Regions from separate parts of the Homo sapiens genome. Here region 2 is linked to region 1. The links are contacts of gene promoters, found by promoter capture Hi-C in blood cells and fetal thymus (Javierre and others, 2016). All regions are on one chromosome and are shown on one strand. The core of a region is centred on a gene start or on the middle of the fragment in contact, and the rest is flanking DNA. Distances in the headings are between cores, read along the strand shown. Region 1 holds the start of NCAPG2 (non-SMC condensin II complex subunit G2). Region 2 holds the start of LMBR1 (limb development membrane protein 1).

What was found. Contacts are between HindIII fragments. The CHiCAGO score rates a contact against its expected background, and 5 or more counts as called.
Region 2: the fragment with the promoter of LMBR1 here is called in contact with the fragment with the promoter of NCAPG2 in region 1 in 1 of 17 cell types (neutrophils); the score reaches 7.4 in neutrophils.

The regions. Positions count from the first base shown.
Region 1 is chr7:158,701,351-158,708,401 of GRCh38, reverse strand. It overlaps NCAPG2 (non-SMC condensin II complex subunit G2), which reads left to right and starts at 3,598. Exons shown (of 28, transcript NM_017760.7): 1 at 3,598-3,678; 2 at 6,464-6,580. The coding sequence starts at 6,503. RefSeq lists silencers at 2,942-3,221, 3,342-3,431, 3,582-3,681 and an enhancer at 4,259-4,837. The HindIII fragment of the contact is 5,779 bases long and covers 2,394-7,051 here.
Region 2 is chr7:156,887,382-156,894,432 of GRCh38, reverse strand. It overlaps LMBR1 (limb development membrane protein 1), which reads left to right and starts at 1,250. Exons shown (of 17, transcript NM_022458.4): 1 at 1,250-1,505. The coding sequence starts at 1,440. LOC102723795 (a long non-coding RNA gene) reads right to left here and starts at 1,035. Exons shown (of 4, transcript XR_928253.3): 1 at 770-1,035. RefSeq lists silencers at 1,029-1,608, 1,659-2,158. The HindIII fragment of the contact is 17,725 bases long and covers 1-7,051 here.

The DNA.
Region 1 (7,051 bases), core at 2,349-4,848:
AACCTTTTCTAATTTACCACATTGTAAGATTTTAAGAACACAGATGATCTCATGCCTCATTCATTCATTTATTCAGAAAATATTTTCTTCAAGCATCTAAAATGTGCCAGGCCTTACGCCACGGATATAGGACTAAGGATGACACAGTGCTTGACATGGAGGAGATGATGAGGCCTGTGGTAGGGGGCTAAGAGATTGCATTACAGTGAGGGTTATGGGGTTCAGGAAATAAACCCCTATAGAAGGTAAAGCTTGAGCTGAGTTCTGGAGGAGTGTCATCTATTTGCGGGGAAGGTCACATTCCCAGTGAACGGTGATGGCAGCGGGAGGCAGACAGGTTCCTGGGTGGGAAGGGGCAGGTCCCTGGTGAAACCCCACTTTCAAGCCAGGGACAGCCTGAAGTTCCTGGGCCAGGATGCCAGTTCCTGGTGAAGTCCGAGATCCAGAAAGAGAACTTACTTGATGCCTTTCAGCCAATCAAGTAGTGCTTTTTCCAGGCCTGCCCATGGGCCAATCAGCACACACTTCCTCCTGTCTATGGACCAATCAACATGTACTTCCTCCATTCTGAGCCCATACGTGCCTGTGGATAGGAGCTACCCACTTCGAGTCTCCTCTCCACTGAGAGCTATTTGGTCAGCTGTTCTCTGCCTTGCTCACCCTCCAGATGTCTGCCAAACCTCATTCTTCCTGGACATGGGACAAGAACTTGGAACCTGCTGAATGGTGAGAGCAAAACGAGCTGTAATACTTTCCTGGCCAGCTTGCCAAGTTGCAGGTGGGAGCCAAAGTGGCTGTAACGGGTTCCTGGCCGGGTCGCTGAGCTGCGGGTGGTGACACGCTCCCAGACTGAGGGAGTGAAGAGTGGTGACCCTTGTAGAGGCCCAGGCCTTGGGATTCCCCAAGCCAGAGCTATAATGCTATAGCCCTCCCACCCTCTGCTGGCGCCCAGTGGCCACCCCATGCAGTGGGAAGCAGCGGTGGGGCCGGGACAGCCAAGGAGCCGTGGACCGGTGTGGGGCGGCAGGACCAAAAGACCTGTAACACAAATGAGGTGAAACATGCCGCCCCGGAAACACGACCCCCTGCTAGCCACGCTGTGGGTGATGAGAAGGACAGAAGAGCTGTGGCCCTTCTGGGAGCCCAGACCTCGGGGCTCCCCGAGCCAGGGCTGTGACACAGTGTAACCCCCCTTTGGGGCTCTGTGGCTCCTGGCATCTGTGAGCTTTCGGGTGCCACCATGTTCCCCTTGTCCAGATGCTGATGCCTGCAGTGGAAGCCACTTGTGGTACCTCTGGTCCAGCCACAGCCTTGCATGGAGCCGGCAGCTGTGCAGGCACCTAGAGCTGCCTGCTCCACCACAGCAGCTGCATGGCTGGGTGTGCGCAGTGGTTGGACCCCATGCTCGCTTGCTCACATACCCCTTGCCGCTCTGCACCTGGCTCACCCTTGGCAGGCGTGGGATCTGGGTTGGTAGTGCAAGCCGAGTGCAACCTGCTGGGCTGAGTGGGCTCGAGCAAAACTCTAGCAGAGGCACCGCTGGCCACGGAGGTTTCTAGCTGGTGAAGCGATACCCAAAGGATCCTATGACATTAGTGGCTGCATGGGCAGGTGCATTGGGGGTGCACTGGGCGCTCCTGCTGCCCTGCTTCCACGTGCCTCTGAGCACTGCACTACATAGACATTTAGGCCTCATAACAACCCCCTAGAGGAGGCTGAGCTCTGCATTATACAGACATTTAGGCCTCATAACAACCCCCTAGAGGAGGCTCAGTACTTAAGTAGGTCCCATTTGATAGATGAGGAAACTGAGGCTCAGTCGTCCATGGCTTGTCAAAGGTCACCAGCTAGTGAGCACAGAACCAGGTTAGCCCAGGTGGTACAGCTTCAGAGCTCACATGCGTAACTTGTTACATTATTCCTACTCAGGAAGTGGAAACCCCAGGAACAGATGGCTGATTGGAGGAGGGACCAGCATAAGGAAAGGGGCAGGATTCAGGGGTGGGAGGGGAAGTCGATATCTGTTTTGGATGCATGTCAGCACCAGCGTGGGAGTAGGCAGTGAGCTGTTGAAAATTCTGGAGTTCAGAAATAACCGTGTCTTGCAAATCCAGATGCAGAGGTCACTGCTTGAAGGTGGCAGTTTGCACCTTGGATATGAAGGAAATTGCTAAGAAGAAAGCAGTGAGAAGATGAGGGCACCAAAATTCAAGAAATGGCAGGGAAGGATCTGTGTATGGAGGGAGGAGGAGGTCAGAGGTGGCTGGAGCCCCAGGATGAAATAGGCAATGTTAGATATCGGCCACCTGTTGACAAGGGTCCCAGACTCAGCATCCTCTGAGTGGGTCTTCTCCCTCCCCTCTGCAGCCTGCCTTGCTTCACTGTTGCAAGCTTCCTAGTAAACCAGTCTTCTCCCTGCTATAATTTTATATTGCTTGTTGAAACGATATTCCAACAAGTAACATAAATATTTTTGATATACTAGGCTAAATAAAACATATTTAAAAATTAATGTCACCTATTTATCTTCATTTTTCTAATGTGGTCACTAGAAATTTACAAGTGCACTTGTGGCTCCCATGATGTTCCTATTGGTTGGTGCTGTGCTCCCACAGTGCAACGACTTCAATCTCGCCAAGACCTCTGGCTTGAGTTAAGCCAGGAAAACAGATACCACTCTAGACATCTCAAGCATGAAAGAATATAGCTCCAGGGAAGGCCAAGTCCTCACGAAGGGATGCAGAGCTCGGTGGTAAAGAGCACCGTTTTCTAAGAATTTGCTTTCAACAAAAATTGGGAACGCCCAATCAAGTTATTCGCTGACACAAATTAAAAGAGATTGATACATCAGTATGTGATTTTGGCATTTAAGTCCAAAGAATTGAATGACATTGCTACTCCTCCTTCACACGGGTGCCTCCGAGGGTCCCCGCTAAGGCCTCTCCCTCTCCACCCTATGGGCAGCTGACCTGCCGGGGGCCTCACCTGCTGGAGGAGCAACTGCAGGAGAAGCACCTGTTAGGGGCCGCACCTGGCCGGAGGGGCTCCTGCGGGGGAAGCACCTGCCCAGGGTGCACCTACCGTGTGCAGGCTGCGGACCACCCGGACAGGTGCCCCCTCGGCAGGGAGGGCGGTCACGGGGGCCGGCCAGGTCGGGGTGGGGTCCTCCCGGGGATCCAGACACGGCCCTGTGGCCTCTCCCCGCCCCAAGCCTTTCCTTTCTCTCCCCCTCTCTCTCTTCCTCTCCTTCCTCCTTCCCACAACACCGCCCGCTCGCAGCGCCCCGCCCTCTCCTGGACCGCGCACTCCCTCCGCGGAGGCCCCAGGACGCGCACGAGCGCGCAGTGGACGTCGGCGCGCGGACCGGGCATGGGTTCCCCAGCTGTGGCGCCCCGCGTGCGCGTTCCGTAGTGCCCGGTAGGGCACTGGGCTTAGCTGCTCGAGGCCGCGCCCTAAGAGGCGGGGCATAGACAGGAAGAAGACTGGCGGGCATGTGGGCGGGGCATGATCTGGAGGCGGGGCGGGCCGGGCGTGTGGGCGAGGCCCGAGGCTCGCGGCGCCCCAGCTCTCGCGAGAGCGGCGCCTGATGACGACCGGGAGGGCGGGGCCCGTCTGGGGCGCCGGCGGGTGCGTTTGAATCTGGTCCGAGCGCGGGAAACGGCGGGTCCCCGAGCCCAGGTAAGAGCTGCGGTGCCGAGCCGGGATTGGGTTCAGAGCAGGGGCTGGGAAGTAGCAGGGATCGGGCGGGAAGCCCCTCCTCGGCTGGTCGGGGTCCCAGCCTCCCCTCCCCTAAGGAGGCGGCCGACCTGCGTGCGGGCAGTGCTGCCTCTGACGGAACTGGACGGAACTGGCGACCCCGGGCCATCCCCCCTACCCAGCTCAGCGACGCCCGTCCTTCTTGTCCGTGTCGGAGGAAAATCCCAGCCCCGGGCGCGGGCACTGCCCTCAGAGAGCGACCCCCCAGCCCTGAGCATGGGCACCGTCCTCAGAGAGTGTCCCCTCAGTCCTGGGCATGGGCACTGCCCTCAGAGAGCGACCTCCTCTGTCCTGGGCATGGGAACTGCCCTCAGAGAGTGTCCCCTCAGTCCTGGGCATGGGCACTACCCTCAGAGAGCGACCCCCTCAGTCCTGAGCATGGGCACTGCCCTCAGAGAGCGTCCCCTCAGTCCTGGGCATGGGCACTACCCTCAGAGAGCGACCCCCTCAGTCCTGAGCATGGGCACTGCCCTCAGAGAGCGACCCCCTCAGTCCTGGGCATGGGCACTGCCCTCAGAGAGCGTCCCCTCAGTCCTGGGCATGGGCACTACCCTCAGAGAGCGACCCCCTCAGTCCTGAGCATGGGCACTGCCCTCAGAGAGCGTCCCCTCAGTCCTGGGCATGGGCACTGCCCTCAGAGAGCGACCCCCTCTGTCCTGGGCATGGGAACTGCCCTCAGAGAGAGTCCCCTCAGTCCTGGGTGTCGGTACTGCCCTTAGAGAGAGTCCCCCTGAGCCCTGGGTGTAGGCACTGCCCTCAGAGAGTATCTCCCCAGCTGTGGACGTGGGCATTGTCCTCAGAGACATCAGTCTCCTGAACTCTTGTTGCTGGTTTGGTGCCTCTTGTTGTGTCCATGAGGAAGGAGTTTGGGGACGGAGTGGGAAGTCACAGGTGGTGAGAAGGTAACAGGGATTTCTTCTTTTTAATGCTCATCTTGATTTAGTACCAGACCTCCTGTGCGAAGAGTAACCTGCTCTTCGGACTGATAACTGGATGGTGAGATGACTCCTTACCTTGAAAGTAGCATTCTGGCTGCAGGGCTGAGGTCTTATGCACATATGGTACAAGAAACATGGAATATTGCCACTTTGGGAGATAGATTGAAAAATTAACCATTAAAAAATTACAGTCACTAATATAAGAGGGAAAATGGGAAATATAGGAATAAGTTTGGTAGTCTAGAGGAAGTGTATTACTGTAAGTTGGACTAACATGCCAAAGAGGTACACTTGGAAATAGAGCAAACAAGAAAAGTGACCAGAACTATGAAAAAGTGGAGAGTGTTCACAGACTTGCCGGGCGAAGATGTATGATTCCATGTGTTTGCTGCACCTTATTGGATTATTTTTCTAAAATCATGAATTTGTCCTAGCCACTATTCATTATGCTTGTTACTGGCCACTCTCCCTTCCCTCCCCATTTTCTTTGTCAGTGAAAAATGTGCCAGTCATGCTTGATTTAAAGAGGGAGACACGTTGTCGTTAGGCAATTTCATCATTGCATGAACATCACAGAGTGGACTTGCCTACACCTAGAGGTGTAGCCTACACACATAGGCTGTATGGTGTAGCCTACTGCTCCTAGAATGTTACTGTACTGAATACTGTAGGCAACTGTAATACAATGGCAAGTATTTGCATCGCTAAACATATCTAAGCATAGAAAAAGCACAGTAAAAATATGGCATTATAATCTTATGGGACCACGGTCATACATGTGGTCTGTTGTTGACTGAAATGTTATGTGGTCCATGACCGTAGTTCATAGTTCAGCCATTTGAGTTGAGGAATGAGATGACCAGACTTCACTGTTAACTTATTTCGGGAGTCATTAAACTGAGGTTATTTTTGCTTTGTTCAATTTGGACATTAAAATCTAGTATTATATGTTTAAGATGACTCTCTGTCCCCATAATTATTGGCAATAATTTTCCATATTGCTCTATTTATAATGGTGCAGGTGGTTTTCATTTATTTTTAAAGTGAGGGGGCTCCTACTGCAAATGTGTTCCATCATTTGCTATTACCTCATCTTTAGGTTGATGTTTTTTCAGTAGGGCACCAGTAGCACCAGGTATTGTGAATGCGAAATAGAATTTCCTGGAAAAACACAGGCAGGATGGAGGGTATACAAAGTCCCCTGAGCTCTCATTATCCCGAAGGGGTGGGAGGAGGGTGCTGTGGTTGAGCATGCCTAATGCATAGTCTAACAAGATCCCAGGTGACCCCCGGGGCCACTGTTTTCCATCTCACTTTGAATAACAAGATGACACTAACAGTGGGATTTTTTTGATGGAGGAATGGCCTTTAGAAAGGGAGCATCTTCAGAATCTGCAGCTGGGATCAGATTGTTCTTTTGTTGAATCAACTCAGCTCTGCCGAGCCAGCATCTTGCTAAGGTACTAAAAAGGGAGAGATGGTGGTGAGCTTCCTAAGGCTATTTGGATTTCTCCCTCCTTAGTTGGTAATTTTATTAACAATTGTTGATAAAATATCATTAATATCATGTTATTCACATCCCCAGTAAAGGAAATAAGTAAATTGTTTTTCAGATATTATAGCGTGTTTTATGTCAGAATGTTTTTAGAAACTGTCTGCCATACGTGGTTGAGGAATTTTCTTGCAGTTCTTGGATGTTAATATCAAATTAAATCTTACAGGAAAAGATATATTTGCAAGTGTTTCAGTATGATTGTGTTTTCCATTAGGGTTACAAAATAAATGCCATTTGAACAGTGCCATCTGTCATGGAAAAACGTGAGACGTTTGTACAAGCCGTGTCTAAGGAGCTGGTTGGAGAGTTTTTGCAATTTGTTCAACTTGATGTAAGTTTCATGTTTTAGTTTTGTTGTGATTTTTGACTGTGAATATGAAATATGTTCTAAAGTCATTATGTCCCCAAAAGAAACATAGTTATCTCAGTGAATCCTTAGCGACCAATGTTTATTTGAAAGAAGAAAACAAAACCCTTTATACTCAAATCTACCTGCTGGTGGGCTACGCTAAGATGTAAAAGATAAACAGAAGTTAACCAGTCAAAGAGGGATGTTGGGGGAAAGGACCCATCTAACAAAGAAGGTCACTCTGAAGACTAGAGAAGGTTTGTTGTGTTTGAACTTGAAGTTCAGCAGGAAGGCAGAAGATGAGGCTGGGGGCTAGGCTACACGAGTCTTTACCATTTTAAGGAATTCAGACTTTATCTTGAGAACGGTGGGTGCTTGAAGCAGGGAGCGAGCTGTAGGCAAGGGAGGAAGAGAACAAAAGAGAAGGAGAGAGAACTAGTGGACAAAATAGAG
Region 2 (7,051 bases), core at 1-2,500, 1.8 Mb after region 1:
AGATTCATAAAAATCTAAACAACGGCCGGGCGCGGTGGCTCAGGCCTGTAATCCCAGCACTTTGGGAGGACGAGGTGGGCGGATCACCTGAGGTCAGGAGTTCAAGAACAGCTTGGCCAACGTGGTGAAACCCCGTCTCTACTAAAAATACAAAAATTAGCTGGGCGTGGTGGCGGGCGCCTGTAATCCCAGCTACTCGGGAGGCTGAGGCAGGAGAATCACTTGAACCCAAGAGGCAGAGGTTGTTGTGAGCAGAGATCGCCATTGCACTCCAGCCTGGGCGACAAGAGTGAAACTCTGTCTCAAAAAAAAAAAAAACAAAAACAAAAACTAAATGACATTTGAAAGCAATTTGTAGATTTTCACACTTCCTAAGAATTCTCAAAGATGCCAAAAACAAAAATCGCAGCCACTAGCAATTTAAATGACTTCCTCGTAGCCAAATAAATCCTAAGGTAAAATTATAAACATTCCCTTAAATTCAAATTTTATAACAAAAAGAAAGATAATAGGGAACGGAGGGTGAATTATTGTGTTTGATATATTTGGCGGTGAAAAATACATATATTACGTGCTGTTTAGGGTCCACTGAGAGTCATAAAACTGACCCTAGTGACCGAGCTACCGGAAGGACTTGGCAAGGGTCTAGCGAGCTCGGTTATCTGCGTTTTCCAGGTGGGGCAGCCCAAGACCCTTCTCAGACCCAGAGAAGCTGGGTTTCCGCCCAAAGCCCGGCCCCAAACCACCGATTTCCGACCTTTCAACCTACTTTGGCAGAGCAAGAGTTTCCGCGGGAGACTCCCTGCTTCCCTCTGCCCAGGTCCCCTGAGGCCGAGTGCGGTACTGAGTGCTGAGTAAGGGGTGCCGAGTGCCAAGCACTGAGTAACTGGGGGAGGGGAACCATGCAGCTGTCATAAATAATTAGCTCCTGTGAGGAACAGGAACTCCGAGACTGCGGCCGGGCCAGGTGGGCAGAGGTCGCAGCGCCCTCGCCGCGTTCCCCGTCCCCATCCGACGCCAGGACAGCGCCTCCTTAACTGGGGTAGCCCCTGAGAGCGTGGGCGGAGCCCCGCCCCGCGACCTCAAGGCCCCGCCCCCTCAGCGCCTCCCGGCCCAGCAGCTCGGAAGACCGCGAGGCGCGCTTTTCTGACGCATCGGCGCCTTTCGTCTGACGTATGCCTGCACCGCCCCCTCCCCTCCCTGCCCCGCCCCCGCCCCGCCCCCGACTGCGCGGCGCCCGCCCTCCCTTAGTCAGAGCTGCTCGTCTGAGGCTGCTGAGGCGACGGCCGGTGTCGTGGTCGCGGTACCTGTTCCAACACGGCTCGCGGGCCCGTGCCGGCTCCGGTCCCCGGCGCGGCTGTCCGAGCCCCTGCGGCGGGCGGACGATGGTGTGGCGGAGCACGCGGACGCGGGCGGCGCGGCGGCGGGCATGAAGGAGGATGGAAGGGCAGGACGAGGTGTCGGCGCGGGAGCAGCACTTCCACAGCCAAGTGCGGGAGTCCACGGTGCGTGGGGACCGAGGCAGCCCTGACAGTCCCGCGTGCCCGCCCGGGCCCTCCGTCCCCGCCCCCGGGCCCCCGGTCCCCGGACCCCTCACCTCCGGGCCTCGCCTCGCGCCTCCCGCCCCGGCCTCTGCCGCTCTCCCTCCCCACCCCTCCTCTCCCCTCCCCTCCCCTTCCCTCCCCACCTCTCCTCTCCCCTCCCCTCCCCTTCGCTTCCTCTGCCTGCCCCCCCGCTCCGCTCTTGCCTCCCCTGCCCCCTCGCGCTCCCTCCGTTCGAGCCCCGACCCCGCCCCCGCCCCGCGGCCTCGGTGCTGCCCTTCCCTTCCCGCGGGGAGGGCTGCGGTGCGCGCCGCGCTCTGGGACCCCAGGGGCTTCCTCTCTGGGCGGGTGTGCGGCTCGCGCCTCGGGGTGTGGACGGCGGCCCCGCCAGTGCGCGCCCCCGCGCTCCGCCGCCAGGCCAGGTAGGCAGGTGGATGCGCAGGCGTCCCGGAGAGCCTGGGTGGGCCCGGCGGGTCCGGGAAGGGCCGGGCTGCGCGGAGCCCGCCCGCCTCTCGCGTTTGGACCCGGCCGGTTACCTTGTCCCGGTCAACACCTCCTGCCCTCCTGGCGCCTCACGTTTCCATCCCTCTTTCATCTCCCCCAGCCCCCACGTGGGTTGAGTTCGAAACCTTACCGTTTGGGATGAGAATATTGGTTATTTTTGGGAGTGAGGACCTCAGCAAAAGTCCATTTTGCTATGGAAGCAACTTCTTAGGGAAGCAGCTTCTTTTTTGGCCCATGTTCCATGTGTGCTGTTGGCAGGAGTCAGGAAGCGGACTTGACCTTGGAAAGTCTACTTTGATGTTTTTATCTTTTCATGATGCTCTAGAATGTATTGTAATTGGGTTTATCTGTGTTTTCATAACTGTTGTAAAATATGTCAATTTTTTATGTTTATATTTACGCCTCTCCTAAGTTGTCTACGATTCAGTCACACTTGGTTTGAGGTGAAAAAATTCTGCTTTAGAATTATCTAATTTGTGTACTCACTGATCTTGAAAATTGAGAATCACTTTGGAAGTCATACTTTGAATAAAGAGGACATATAAAGTCTGAGCTGGTGGAATTTGAGTTAGTGGAATTTGGTACACATTTAGTTGTAATTTTTATAATTGAAGCTAAAATACACAGAGATAAGTTCATGTAATCATACATGTACCCTTCAGATCATTTCATACTAAACACGCCTGTGTACTCCTGAATCCACCAGGAGTTTGAGACTGGTCAGCCTGGGCAACATAGTGAATCCCCATCTCTACCATTATAAAAAAATAAATAAATAAACACAATTTTACTAGGATCCCAGAGACTGATTCCTTTCCCTCTTCCAATTACTTTCTCCTCCACCAAGGGTAAACGTTGCCCTGGCTTCTAATATCATAGATTAGTTTTTGCTTAGTTTTGAACTTTATGTAAATGGAATCTTACCGTATATACTCTTCTGTGTCCAGTTTCTTGTACAATGTTTGTGAAATTTCTCCATGTTGTATGTGGTTATAATTCATTCTCGGTGCAGTAGTTGTGTGACTATAGCACAATTTATTTTTCATTTTACTGTTGATGGGCACTTCAGTAGTTTCTAGGTTTTGGCTATGAATATATATATGTGTATATATATGTGTATGTATATATGTGTGTGTGTGTGTGTGTGTGTGTGTATATATATATATATATATATATTTTTTTTTTTTTTTTTTTTTTGTGATGGAGTCTCGCTCTGTCTCCCAGGCTGGAGTGCAGTGGCACAATCTCGGCTCACTGCAACCTCTGCCTCCGGGATTCAAGTGATTCTCCTACCTCAGCCTCCTGAATAGCTGGGATTACAGGCACACACCACCACACCCAGCTAATTTTTCTATTTTTATTAGAGACGGGGTTTCTCCATGCTGGCCAGGCTGGCCTTGAACTCCTGACCTCAGGTGATCCACCTGCCTTGGCCTCCCAAAGTGCTGGGATTACAGGCATGAGCCACCACGCCGGGCTGGCTATGAACTTTTTGTACATAGCTTTTGGTGGACATGTTTGTGCATTTCTGTTGGGGATAGCCCTAGGAATGGAATCCCTAGGTTAAAGAGTGTGCATTTGTTCATCTTTAGTAGATACTTTAAAACAATTTTCCAAAGTGGTTGTACCAGTGTACACTTCCGCCAGTACTGACAGTCTCAGAGGTGTGGTTGTTACTCATCTTTATCAATACTTGATATTTTCTGTCCTTTTTAATTTTAGTCATTCTAGCAAGTGTGTTATAGTGTTCATCATACAAATAATTTTAATTTGCATTTTCCTGATAACTAATGAATTTGAGCACCTGTTTGTTTATTAGCCATTTGGAAATCTTGTGAAGGGTCAAATTTTTTTCCCCATTTAAAAATTAAGTTTATCTTTTTAATATTGATTTGCAAGGTCTTTACAGAATAACTTGTATTATATTGTTATACAGGTGGATATGATTTCTTTGTCAGAAATATATACTGCACATATTTCTTTCCCACTCTGTGGATGCCTTTCACTTTTAATGATATCTTCTGATGAACAGAAATTATTAATTTTAATATAGTTCAATTTATTAAAATTTTTTTGAGTACTTTTAATGTCCCGATTAAGAAATCTCTCCTTACTCTAAGACTGATGTTCTCTTCTTCTTTTCTCTAAATGCTTTATTGAATTACTCTTCTCATTTAAATTTGCAATCTATTTCGAATTTATTTTTTTGTGTCTGGTGCAAGGTAGGAGTCATATTTTTTTCTCCCACAGGAATGTCCAATTGCTTCAGCACTATTTAGGACTTTTGTCACAGATAGGTAACTGTATATTCATAGGGTTTAATTTTGGACTTTATGTGGTTTTATTGGTCTATTTGTCTTTAGTTTTATTATTTTTTAAAATTTGAGACAGGTTCTCCCTCTGTTGACCAGGCTGTCGTGCAGTGGCGCAATCATGGCTCACTGCAGCCTTGACTTCCAAGGCTCAGGCGATCCTCCCACCTCAGCTTCCCAAGTAGCTGGGACTACAGGCTTGAATCATACAGGTGTGCACTAACAGACCCAGCTAATCTTTTAATTTTTTGTAGAGGTGAGGTCTCACCGTGTTGCCCAGACCTGTCTCCTGGGCTCAAGTGATCCTCCTGCTCTTTGGCTTTACTTTTAATTAATTAGATATTCTAGAATTTGGGTTGAGAAAGGGACACATTGTAAAACAGTCCAGAGCTTCGTCTACTCCCCTGAAAACGGTTTTGGTACCGATTATGGAGTTCTTTAGTTCTGACTCTCCTCACCTGTTTCCCTCAACCCAGTACCCCTGGCTGGTTGAGTCTACTCCATCTTCTACAGAACCAGCGCAGACAGTGACCAGGCTCAGGGTTCCCAGTCTTTGGCATTTCTTTCTCAAATGATTTATATTTAGAGTGAATGTAAATACTTTTTCTCTAAGACCTGTTGCCAATTTTTAAAATTATTCAATTCTTTCTGATTTTGCTACATAATGCTATAATTGCTTAACTTTTTTATCATAATAAGATATATATATATAACATGCAATTTACCATATCTAAATATACAGTTCAGTGGCGTTAAATACATTCACATTGTTGTGCAACCACCACCACTATCCATTTCCAGATCTTTTTCATCAACTGAAACTTGATACCCATGAAACAGTAACTCTCCATTCTTCACTCTCTCCAGCTGCTGGTTCTGCCTATATGAATCTGACTATTCCCAGTTGAACCATACAATATTTGTCCTTTTCTATCTGGCTTATTTCACTTAGCATAATGCCTTCAAAGTTCACCTGTGTTGTAGCATGTGTCAAAATTTCTTTTTCTTTCTTTTTTTTTTTTGAGACAGAGTCTTTCTCTGTTGCCCAGGCTAGAGTGCAGTGGCGTGATCTCGGCTCATTGCAACCTCTCCCTCCCTGGTTCAAGCAATTCTCCTGCCTCAGCCTCCCGAGTAGCTGGGATTACAGGCATGCGCCACCGCACTTGGCTAATTTTTGTATTTTTAGTAGAGATGGGTTTCACCATGTTGGCCAGGCTGGTCTTGAACTCCTGACCCCAGGTGATCCACCTGCCTCAGCCTCCCAAAGTGCTGGGATTACAGGTGTGAGCCACTGTGCCTGGCCTCATTTTTTAATTTTTTGTAGAGATGGGGTTTTTGCTATGTTGCCCAGGCTGTTCTTGAACTCCTGGCCTCAAGTGATGCACCCACCCTGGCCTCCCAAAGTGCTGGGATTACAGGCGGGAGCCAACGTGCCTGGCCCAGAATTTGTTCAGGCTGAATAATATTTTCTTTTTGTGTATACTGTATTTTGCTTACCCATTCATTCATCAATTGACCTGAGTTGTTTCTGTTTTTGGCTATTGTGAATAATGCTGCTGTGATCATGGGTATGCAAATATCTATTAGAGTCCCTGCTTTCAATTCAGAAGTAGAATTGCTGGATCATATGATAATTCTATGTTTAATTTTTTTTTTTTTTTTTTTTGAGACAGAGTCTCGCTGTGTTTCCCAGGCTGGAGTGCAGTGACTCAATCTCGGCTCACTGCAAGCTCCGCCCCCCCGGTTCATGCCATTCTCCTGCCTCAGCCTCCCGAGTAGCTGGGACTACAGGCACCCGCCACCACGCCCAGCTAACTTTTTGTATTTTTAGTAGAGACGGGGTTTCACCATGTTAGCCAGGAAGGTCTTGATCTCCTGACCTCGTGATTCGCCCGCCTCAGCCTCCCAAAGTGCTGGGATTACAGGCGTGAGCCACCACGCCCGGCCTCTATGTTTAATTTTTTTGAGGAACTGCCATACCATTTTCCACAGAGGCTGTACCATTTTATATTCCCACTAGCAAGGAGCCAGAGTTTCTGGTTCTTCCGCATCTTCACCAACACACATTGTTTTCTGTTTTTCTTCTTTTTTTTAAAATGGATGTGAAATGGTATCTGATGCTGGATTTGATTTGCATTTCCCTAATTATAAGTGAAGTTCAGCATTGTTTCATGTGCTTATTGACTATATGGACATCTTCTTTGGAGAAATATCTGTTCTTTGCCTGTTTTTGAATTGAGTTGCTTGATTTTTGTTGTTTAGTTTTAGGAGTTCTTTATATATTCTGAATATTAACCCCTTATCAGACATGTGATTTGCAAACACTTCTCGCCCATTCTGTAGGGTTGCCTTTTTACTCTATTGCTAGTGTCCTTTGATGCACAAAAGTTTTTAATTTTGTAGTCCAATTGATCTATTTTTTCATTTGTTGCCTGTGTTTTTTTGTGTCATATCCAAGAATTCATCACCAACTGGCATCATCACCAACTGGCATCATGAAGGTTTTCCTCTAAGAGTTGTATAGTTTTAGCTCTTAGGTTTAGGTCTGATCCATTTTGAATTAATTTTTTTGTACAATATAGTGTTTAACTTTTTTTTTTTTTTTTTTTTTTGAGATGGAGTCTCACTCTGTCGCCAGGTTGGAGTGCAGTGGCACAATCTCAAGGCTCACTGCAACCTCCGCCTCCCGGGTTC